Regions from separate parts of the Homo sapiens genome. Here region 1 is linked to region 2. The links are contacts of gene promoters, found by promoter capture Hi-C in human tissues and cell types (Jung and others, 2019). All regions are on one chromosome and are shown on one strand. Each heading gives the region's core, a stretch centred on a gene start or on the middle of the fragment in contact. The rest is flanking DNA. Distances are from core to core; before and after follow the strand shown. Region 1 has its middle 25 kb from the start of TMEM54. Region 2 holds the start of FNDC5 (fibronectin type III domain containing 5).

Region 1 (3,995 bases), core at 926-3,425, 56 kb before region 2:
CTCCTATCATATCCACATTTAATTTACTTGTTTGGCCTATGCAGGACTTGATTTTTAGCTGTTATTTTAGATATAATCTCTTTATGAAGCAAATCAACACCTGCCCCGGCCCCTACAGTCGTGCAACTGAATATGAGTACTGACCTGGAATATGCTTTTTTCTCTAGCCCAAATAGCAGAAAACATCAAAAACAGATTACTTTCACCTGTCAGGGTCAACAGTACATTACACTGTCCTGCATCTGGGTTATATCACCCTTGCAGCTCTGTTGCAGTCTAATCTGCAGGCACTTTAATCATCTCACATCTCCCAGAACATTGTTCTACATGTCTGGAATCTTGCAAGCAAGAAGTAGCAGGTATCCAAATGCCCTGGTAAAACATGTGTTCTAAGGATAGGAGATAATCCCTGTGGAAATTAAGAGAATGTCTACCTCCGTGATTTGGGTCACCCCACCAGATAAAGAACTTAATCCAGTTCATATACTGGCTGAGGAAGAAGGATCATGGACTGGATGGTGGAGAAAGAAATATATATAAATAGAAACAACTAACTCATGAAAAGCTGAGAAACGGGCACTATATTAGCATTTCATATTTTCTTCCTTGCTCTATTGTGTTAATTTATAGATATTAACTCATTTTCCCCTCCCATATTTTCCCTAGTATAATGAAATGTATTACTGTTGGTAACTTGTTAATTTAGTGTTTAGATTATATGCTGTTATGGTAGAATTGTAACTGAACTAGAATGATAATCACCCAGGGTGGATCAGCTAGCTATGTGACTGATGGGATTTGGGGTCTCTTATTTTAAGGAGCGGATTTAGGTCCCTAAAAGTCCAAAAAGATAGACTGTGTAGACATGGTGAACTGACTTTCAACATCCATTCCAAACACTTCCTCATACTGCAGAGGCTGCAAAGATAAAAACTATTTCCCAGACTCCCATGCAGCTAACATTCCGCATACAAGTTGGAGTCTACCCCATCAATGGATGAAAAAATAAAGAAAATGTATTTATAAATGATGGAATACTATTCAGCCTTGAAAAAGAAAGAAATTCTGTTATTTGCAACAACATGGATGGAGCTGGAGAACATTATGCTAAGTGAAATAAGCCAGGCACAGACTAATACCACGTTACCACTTGCATGTAGAATCTAAAACAATTGAATCCATAGAAACAAAGTAGAATGGTGGTTACCAGAGGCTGAGGGCTGAGGGGAATAGGGAAAATGATGGTCAAAGGGTACAAGACCTCAGGAGGAATACGTTTGTTTGTTTGTTTGTTTGTTTGTTTGTTTTGAGATCTATTGCACAGCATGGTGAATATAGTTAATAATAGTTGATAGAGTTTGGATATTTGTGCCCATATAAATCTCAGGTTGAATTGTAATCCCCAGTGCTGGAGATGGGGCCTGGTGGGAAGTGATTGGATCATGGGGTGGATCTTTCACGGATTGATGCTGTCCTCACAATAGTGAGTCTAGAGATCTGGTTGACTGAAAGTGTGTGGCACCTCCCCCACCTCTCTATTTCTCTGGCTTTCACCAGTATTAAGTGCTCTGCCTTCCACCATGAATAAAAGCTTCCTGAGGCCTCCCCAGAAGCCAAGCAGATGCCAGGTACCATGCTTGCACAGCCTACAGAACCATGAGCCAATTAAACCTGTTTTCTTTATAAATTATCCAGTCTCAGGTATTCCTTTATAGTAATTTGAGAATGGCCTAATACAATAGTATATGATTGTACATTTCAAATGTACATCATTTGAAGAGTAAATTTCAAATGTTCTTGTGATACCGTAACTTGTATTAAGTTGATTGACTCTCTCTTAGCTGAGAAAGCGAGATGGACTCCATTTGGCTCCTTCCTTTGCAAGACATCAAGGGCTCCTTACCCACCCCCTTCCTCAAGGACTTGTGCAAGCTGACTCTCAGCATATCAAAGAGTGCAATTAACTGATAAGGTACTGTGGCAAGCTATGTCCGCGATTCCCAGGAATTCGCCCAGGTGATGGTACCCTAAAGCCCCTGCATTTGTGTCCAGCAGATAGCACCCAGAGCCCCCGCACCTATCAGCTTGTGATGAATTTAAAACCCCTGCACCTGGAACTGTTTGTTTTCCTGTAACCATTTGTCTTTTTAACTTTTTTTTTTTTTTTTTTTTTTTTTTTTGCCTGTTTTACTTCTGTAAGATTGCTACAGCTAGGCTCCCCGTCCCCTCTCTAAACCAAAGTGTAAAAGAAAATCTAGCCCCTTCTTCGGGGCCGAGAGAATTTTGAGCTCTAGCCATCTCTCGGTCGCCATGTAATAAAAGACTCCTGAATTAGTTTCAAAATGTGGTGTTTCTCTATAACTCGCTTGGTTACAACATTTGGAGGCCCCAGCGAGAAATTCGCCCCTGGGTGAGAGCCCGACTCGTTCCAGGCTCCCCCGGACAGACGGCGGACTTACAGGGGAGGCGCCACCTGAAGACGTTCCAGGGCCCCATAAGACCCTATCTTCCGGAGGGGAACGGATCGACCACCGGTGTGTGCCCACAAAAAATTCAACTCCTAAGTCCTCAGTTTCTAGTCCCGGGAAGGTAAGTCAGATCTGACTCTGTTTCTCTGGGAGGGAAGTGGCTCTGATGAAGGCCGTCCCTTTTTGACTCTGCTCGCATTCCAGGACGCTGGAGGACGGAGTCCTGGTTTTCTGTTAGGCGCCTCTGTGTCTCTCTGAGAGGGAAGCAGCCCTGACGAGGGCCCTCCCGTGACTCTGTCCATATTCTAGGACGCTGGAGGACTGAGTCCTGGTTTCTGGCAGGCCAGCCTCTCCGTTAAGTCTAGGCTGTCTGTCTCTCTCTCTCTCTCTTCTCTCTCTCGCTCTCTCTCTTTCTCTCTCTCTCCTCTCTCTCCCTCCCTCCCTCTTTCTCTATCTCTTCTTCTTTCAGGTCTCCTGGAGACCTCTGTTTTAGAACGGGAATTAAAAAAAAAAACCTGTTGTAAACTCTGTGTGAATCAGTGCATGTATGTGGAGTTCAAGGGCTTGCGCTTGAATTTCCAGTTTGTAGCTCCACCGTGAAAGCTACGGAATTCGAGAGGGCCCTCACCTACTGTTCCGTGGCGACCTCATACGGCTTAAGGCAGCATCTGGCATAGCTCCATCTGAGCCGGGGGTTTATACCGGTCTGCCAATGCGAAGAGGAGCCTAAGTCCCCTCAGGGGGAGCAGCCAGGCGGGCATCTGACTGATCCCATCACGGGACCCCCTCCCCTTGTCTGTCTATAAAAATTGTCATAATTGTTTATATACCCCAGTGTCTATTGTCTTGTTTAGTGTCTATTGTCCTGTCTGGTGTCTGTCTAAGTTTCTTATGTCTGGTCGTTGATATTGCCCAAGACGACTGGGCAAGGACTTCTTCAAAGTCCTGAGTGCAGATTTTCTAACACAGGAGGTCTCAGGCGTGTCTCTTCGGGTTGCCGGGCCCAGGGGCCAGGCGCGCCTCCACCAGTTTACACAACAGCCTCCTTTCCCTCGGCAGAGGCTCCCCGACCTGCAGGCGAGGAGTGGGAGGGGACGGCGCAGGACCCCCTCCCCCAGGGACCCCCGCGGGCGCCTGACTCCTGCGCCTTCAGGGGTCAAAACCCCTGACATCCCTGAGCACCAGCGCGTCCACACCCGGCTCGGAACGCAGGGGCCCGGCCTGCTGTGGTGACCTTAGCCCCGGGCTGGGCTTCTGAGCCGGGCTTGCAGTGCCTGACGGGGCCTGGAGGCGGGGCGGGGGACCACAGAGTCGTCCTGGCGACACAGGGGACCCAGCGCTGCCCGGCACAGCTCCTCCCAGCCTCAGAAGATCCGAGTGGCCCCTTTCCTCCACATCCCCATCCCTTACCCCGCACATCTCGTTTTCCTGTGTCACAGCAAGTCCAGCGCCCCCAAGATTTGGCTCTACTCTCCCTTTTTAAACCCTTAAAAGAAAAGGCCAAGTTTGAACTTTTTGCCTCCCAGT
Region 2 (3,968 bases), core at 775-3,274:
ACTCTCCAAATCCTCCAAGCCCCCTCCTTCAGCCGCCTTCTCTCTCAAGCCCTCAGGCACTGCCATCTCCTCCCTCCCAATGCCCTACATCTATCTAGGTTTTACCCAAAGAGGCCAGCAGATGGCGCCAAGGTTCCCCTTTCCCCAGCGCTGGACTGGAGGCCAAGACCCCACCAGGACCCTCCCTCCTTTTCTCCCCTGCAGGGACGGGAGTAGATTCTGTGTCCTCTAACTGAACCCTCTCCTTCCTGCTGGTTCCTGTGCTGGAGGCCTGAAGAGGCTCCAGTTGCTCCTGCGGGCCTCCTGGTTGTCTTCCTGTCTGATGGATGGGGGGTGGGGGGTCCCTAGGGGCTAAGCTGCAGCTGGTGGGGCGGGGCCGGGTGGGGTGGGGCAGGCAGCAGCTGCGGGGAGAAAGAGAGAGAAGATAATAAGGGGAGAGAAAGAGAAAGAGAGCAAAGAGAAAAGAGAGAGAGAGGTGCTCTGGCTCCGGGGCTCTTCTCCCAAACGGGTCGAGGTCCCAGCTGAGGCTCTCCCAGGACAAGGTATGTGGCGGGGGAAATGATAGGGCTGGGCAGTGTCACCCTGCCGAGTGGGGCAGGTCTGGGGGCACTGAGGGGATGGGCAGGAAAATTCTGCTGCTCAACAAGAGCCCCTAAGCTCGCTTCCATCTCACCCCTTCCAAGGTGACCAAGGAGGAACACAGGGCCAGCGAAGGAGTCCTGGGTGGGCATAAGGAGAGGAGGGTTGTCTATCGCTCCTCTTGACCCACTGTGTGAATCTGCACCAAGCTCTTCCCATCGGTAGACCTCACTTCCTTAATGTAAAACCAGGGGGATGGAGAGGAAGACCCTGAAGACGTTTCTGTGGCAGAACTTTGCAAGACGTCTCCTTTCCAAAGAAAATTAGCCCTTCCAGGGCTTCTGGAAAACCTTTAAGACCCAAAGGAATGCCCCGCTAGTAGTGGAATTTCGGATAGTCGTGGGAGGGGGCTCAGGGGTTCTTGCTGAGACAAAAGGCCCTGAGCCCTGGTCCATGCCTCTCTCCTCCACCTTGTTTCTCTGGCTGAGATGAGGGAAGGGGGCTGGAGCCACTCCCCTTCTCAGAGATGCTCTTAGAGATTGCTGCAGACTGTTTTCTGGCTGGGGAGGAGCTGGCCCCGGCCAATTCTAGAGTCTCACGAATCTCCGGATGGGTGAAGTCACTCTGGGTGGGGAGACAGTTCAGTTAAGCACAGCTTTGGGAGTCAGATCAGCCTGTGTTCAAATCCTGGCTCTGCTGCGGGTCCCTGGACAAGTCAAGTAGCCTGTCCAAGCTGCAGGCTCCTCCTGTGCAAAGTGTGCAGAGTATGACTTTACAGGGTTGCCCTGAGAATTAAGCCACATAATGCAAAGAAAGCTCAGCATAGTATCTGGCCCCTGGTAGACGCTCATTACTGCCCTCACTATGGGGATGAAAATGAAGGAAAAGGACTGGCCTGGGGTCACAGAGCTGGACTCTCCAGTGAGACAGAGCAGCCTCTTCCCAACCCCACTGGAAACACGGAGCCCTAGTGTCCACTTAGCACTCTCTGCTCACCCCAGCCTTACTGTGATCTCTCCCCTCTGCTCCCGTCTGCCCCAGCCGCAAGGCCTCGGGTCTACCGTGGAATGAGGGGATCCCTAGGCCCAGGGAAGGGAGGCGCGCTTAGGGGTGGGGGCACAAACGGGCATCTCGGTGGCACTTGTCCTCTCTCTACCCTGGGAAAGGGCAGAAAGCGGCAGCCAAGTCAGGGCTGTGCACGGGAGAGAGAGTGACCGCGGCGGGGGCGCGGAGAACCCCGCTGGGCTCCCGCTCGGTGAGAGGGCGGGAGCCGTGGGTCCGCGAAGCCCCTTCCTCCCCGGCAGAGGACCTAATAGGCAGCGGGGGCGGGAGTGGGGGCGCCCTCCGGTCCTCACCCCGCCCCCGCACCTCTCCCCGCAGCGGGGGCGCCCCGCCCCCCGGGCGCCCGACGTGGACGCGGCCGCCGCCACCGCCGCCGCGCGGGAGTCGCTGTCCGCGGAGCCGACATGCAGGCGGCTCGGGGCGGCGCAGGGCGGCCGGAGCGGCCGGGCCGGCCGGGCCGGGGGCCGGAGCGCGAGCGCGAGCGGCCGCCGGGCGCCGGAGCCGCGTCCCCCTGCGCCGCCCCGGGCCTGCCGGCCGGAGGAGCCACCATACACCCCGGGTCGCCGAGCGCCTGGCCGCCCCGCGCCCGCGCCGCGCTCCGCCTGTGGCTGGGCTGCGTCTGCTTCGCGCTGGTGCAGGCGGGTAAGGGGGCCCGGGGCGGGGGGCCGGCGCCGGGGCAGGCTCCTCTCGAGCCCAGCTACCTGGGAGTCCCCTGGTCCTTTCTCTGCCCCCTAGGGACTCCTGTCTCGGCCCAAACACTGCTCCCCTAACCCAGCCCCCAGCGTCTTCCTACCTCCTTGACCCCCAGACCTGTCCTTCAGTTTCCAAATCTCCCCTGTCACCTCAGCCCTGGGTTTCCTAGGGTCTTGTGGTCCCCAGTCCCCTAATCCCATTCCCCTAACCCCAGGTCTTTGCCTCAGCTTCCCTAGCTCCCTTCTTTGACCCAGGGAGCAGCTGAGGACACCAGTTCCCCCACCTGGGCCTCTCTCTGTGTCCCCAGGACCTCTCAAAGCCCTGCAAGCCAACTCTGCAGGGGCAGATGGGGTCCCGCTGTGCAGGAGCACGTGTGAAGGGGATGGGGGCTGGCACCTGAGGGCGCAGGGCGTGGGGTGGGCCCCGGCACCCCTGATCTGGTACAGTGTCTGGCCTGCCCCATGGGGCCGGCCCGTCCTTGCCCAGCCTCTCCTGCCACTCTGTCTTTGTCCCTCCTGGCTGCCGCTGCCCGGCTCATCTCTCCCTCCGTGGCTCGGGGAGCGCTCTCTCGCAGCTGTCTTTCTCAGATGCCCCACTTCTCTGTCCTCTGGTTCTGTGTCTGCCACCACCTGTCTGTGTCCTGTCTCTCCACCTCCCCCTCCATGTCTGGCTCTGTCTCCCTCAGGTCCCAGGCCCAGCCCCCTGGGTCTCAAGTTCACTCTCTGTGGGGTGAGGGGTGCTGCTCAGGCGCAGCTCTGCCCCGTGCTGCACCTGCCCCTTGGAAGATACTGAGCCTTATGTGACTGCACTGCCCCTCTCCTGGACGGTTTTCCTCACTGACCCCCACTATCCCTATCACTCTCACCCCCACTTCCCTCCTGTCTCTTCTGGAGTGATTCCTCATTCATCCTCTTCCCCTACCTGTTCTCTCCTCTCCACTCGCCATGGAGGGGCCCTGCTCTGAGTGACCCCATCTTCCCCTGCCACCTCCCCACCTGCATCTTGGGGCTGGAAGAGCATGGATAAGAGGCTCACACAGACTCTTCCGCAGGCTTTATTCTGCCTGGGCCACCACAGCTCTGAGGATACTTCTGTTCTCCTCACTCCCAGTCCAGGGCTCACCCCAGCCTGACACTTCTCGATCTCTGGGTCTTTCTCCTTCGCGCAAGGTCACTCATTGGACAGGGCAGTATTGTCAAAAGAGCACTGGACTGGGGAGTCCTTTTGTCTGCTTTTCATCAGCTAACCTTCAGTTTCTGTCCACCTATGTCCCCTACATAACTCTCTCCACAACTCTAACCACCCATCCCTTAGATAGGGCCCCGGCCCAGGCCCATCACTTTGAGCCTTGGACCCCTCATGGGGCCGGCCTGTGGCCAGCAGGGGCTTCCGTCCCAGTCATGAGGAGCCTGGGGCCTCTTGGGCTTGGTTCTTCAACCCACTGAAGAGCTGAGAGCCATGTCACTGGACCCCACTTGAGGCCTTAGTTTCTTCCTTCCCCTCCTGCATGGCCTTCCCCAGGTTTCCCCTTCTTACTTATGAGACAGTGGGTCTGGGCCTCACAATAGGGGATGCTCAGGCTTAGGTGCCTCCCCGTCCCCCAGACAGTCCCTCAGCCCCAGTGAACGTCACCG

Evidence for each region. Contacts are between HindIII fragments. The study calls those that stand out against the background at their distance.
Region 1: a contact is called between a fragment that was not itself captured here and the fragment with the promoter of FNDC5 in region 2, in 3 of the 25 tissues and cell types used here (H1 embryonic stem cells, IMR-90 fibroblasts and spleen).

The regions. Positions count from the first base shown.
Region 1 is chr1:32,924,718-32,928,712 of GRCh38, reverse strand. No RefSeq gene overlaps it. Among named protein-coding and RNA genes, the nearest start is that of TMEM54, 25 kb to the right of the region's middle. RefSeq lists an enhancer at 3,138-3,681. The HindIII fragment of the contact is 6,638 bases long and covers 1-3,995 here.
Region 2 is chr1:32,868,968-32,872,935 of GRCh38, reverse strand. It overlaps FNDC5 (fibronectin type III domain containing 5), which reads left to right and starts at 2,024. Exons shown (of 6, transcript NM_001441683.1): 1 at 2,024-2,283; 2 at 3,939-3,968. The coding sequence starts at 2,046. RefSeq lists an enhancer at 1-256. The HindIII fragment of the contact is 14,778 bases long and covers 1-3,968 here.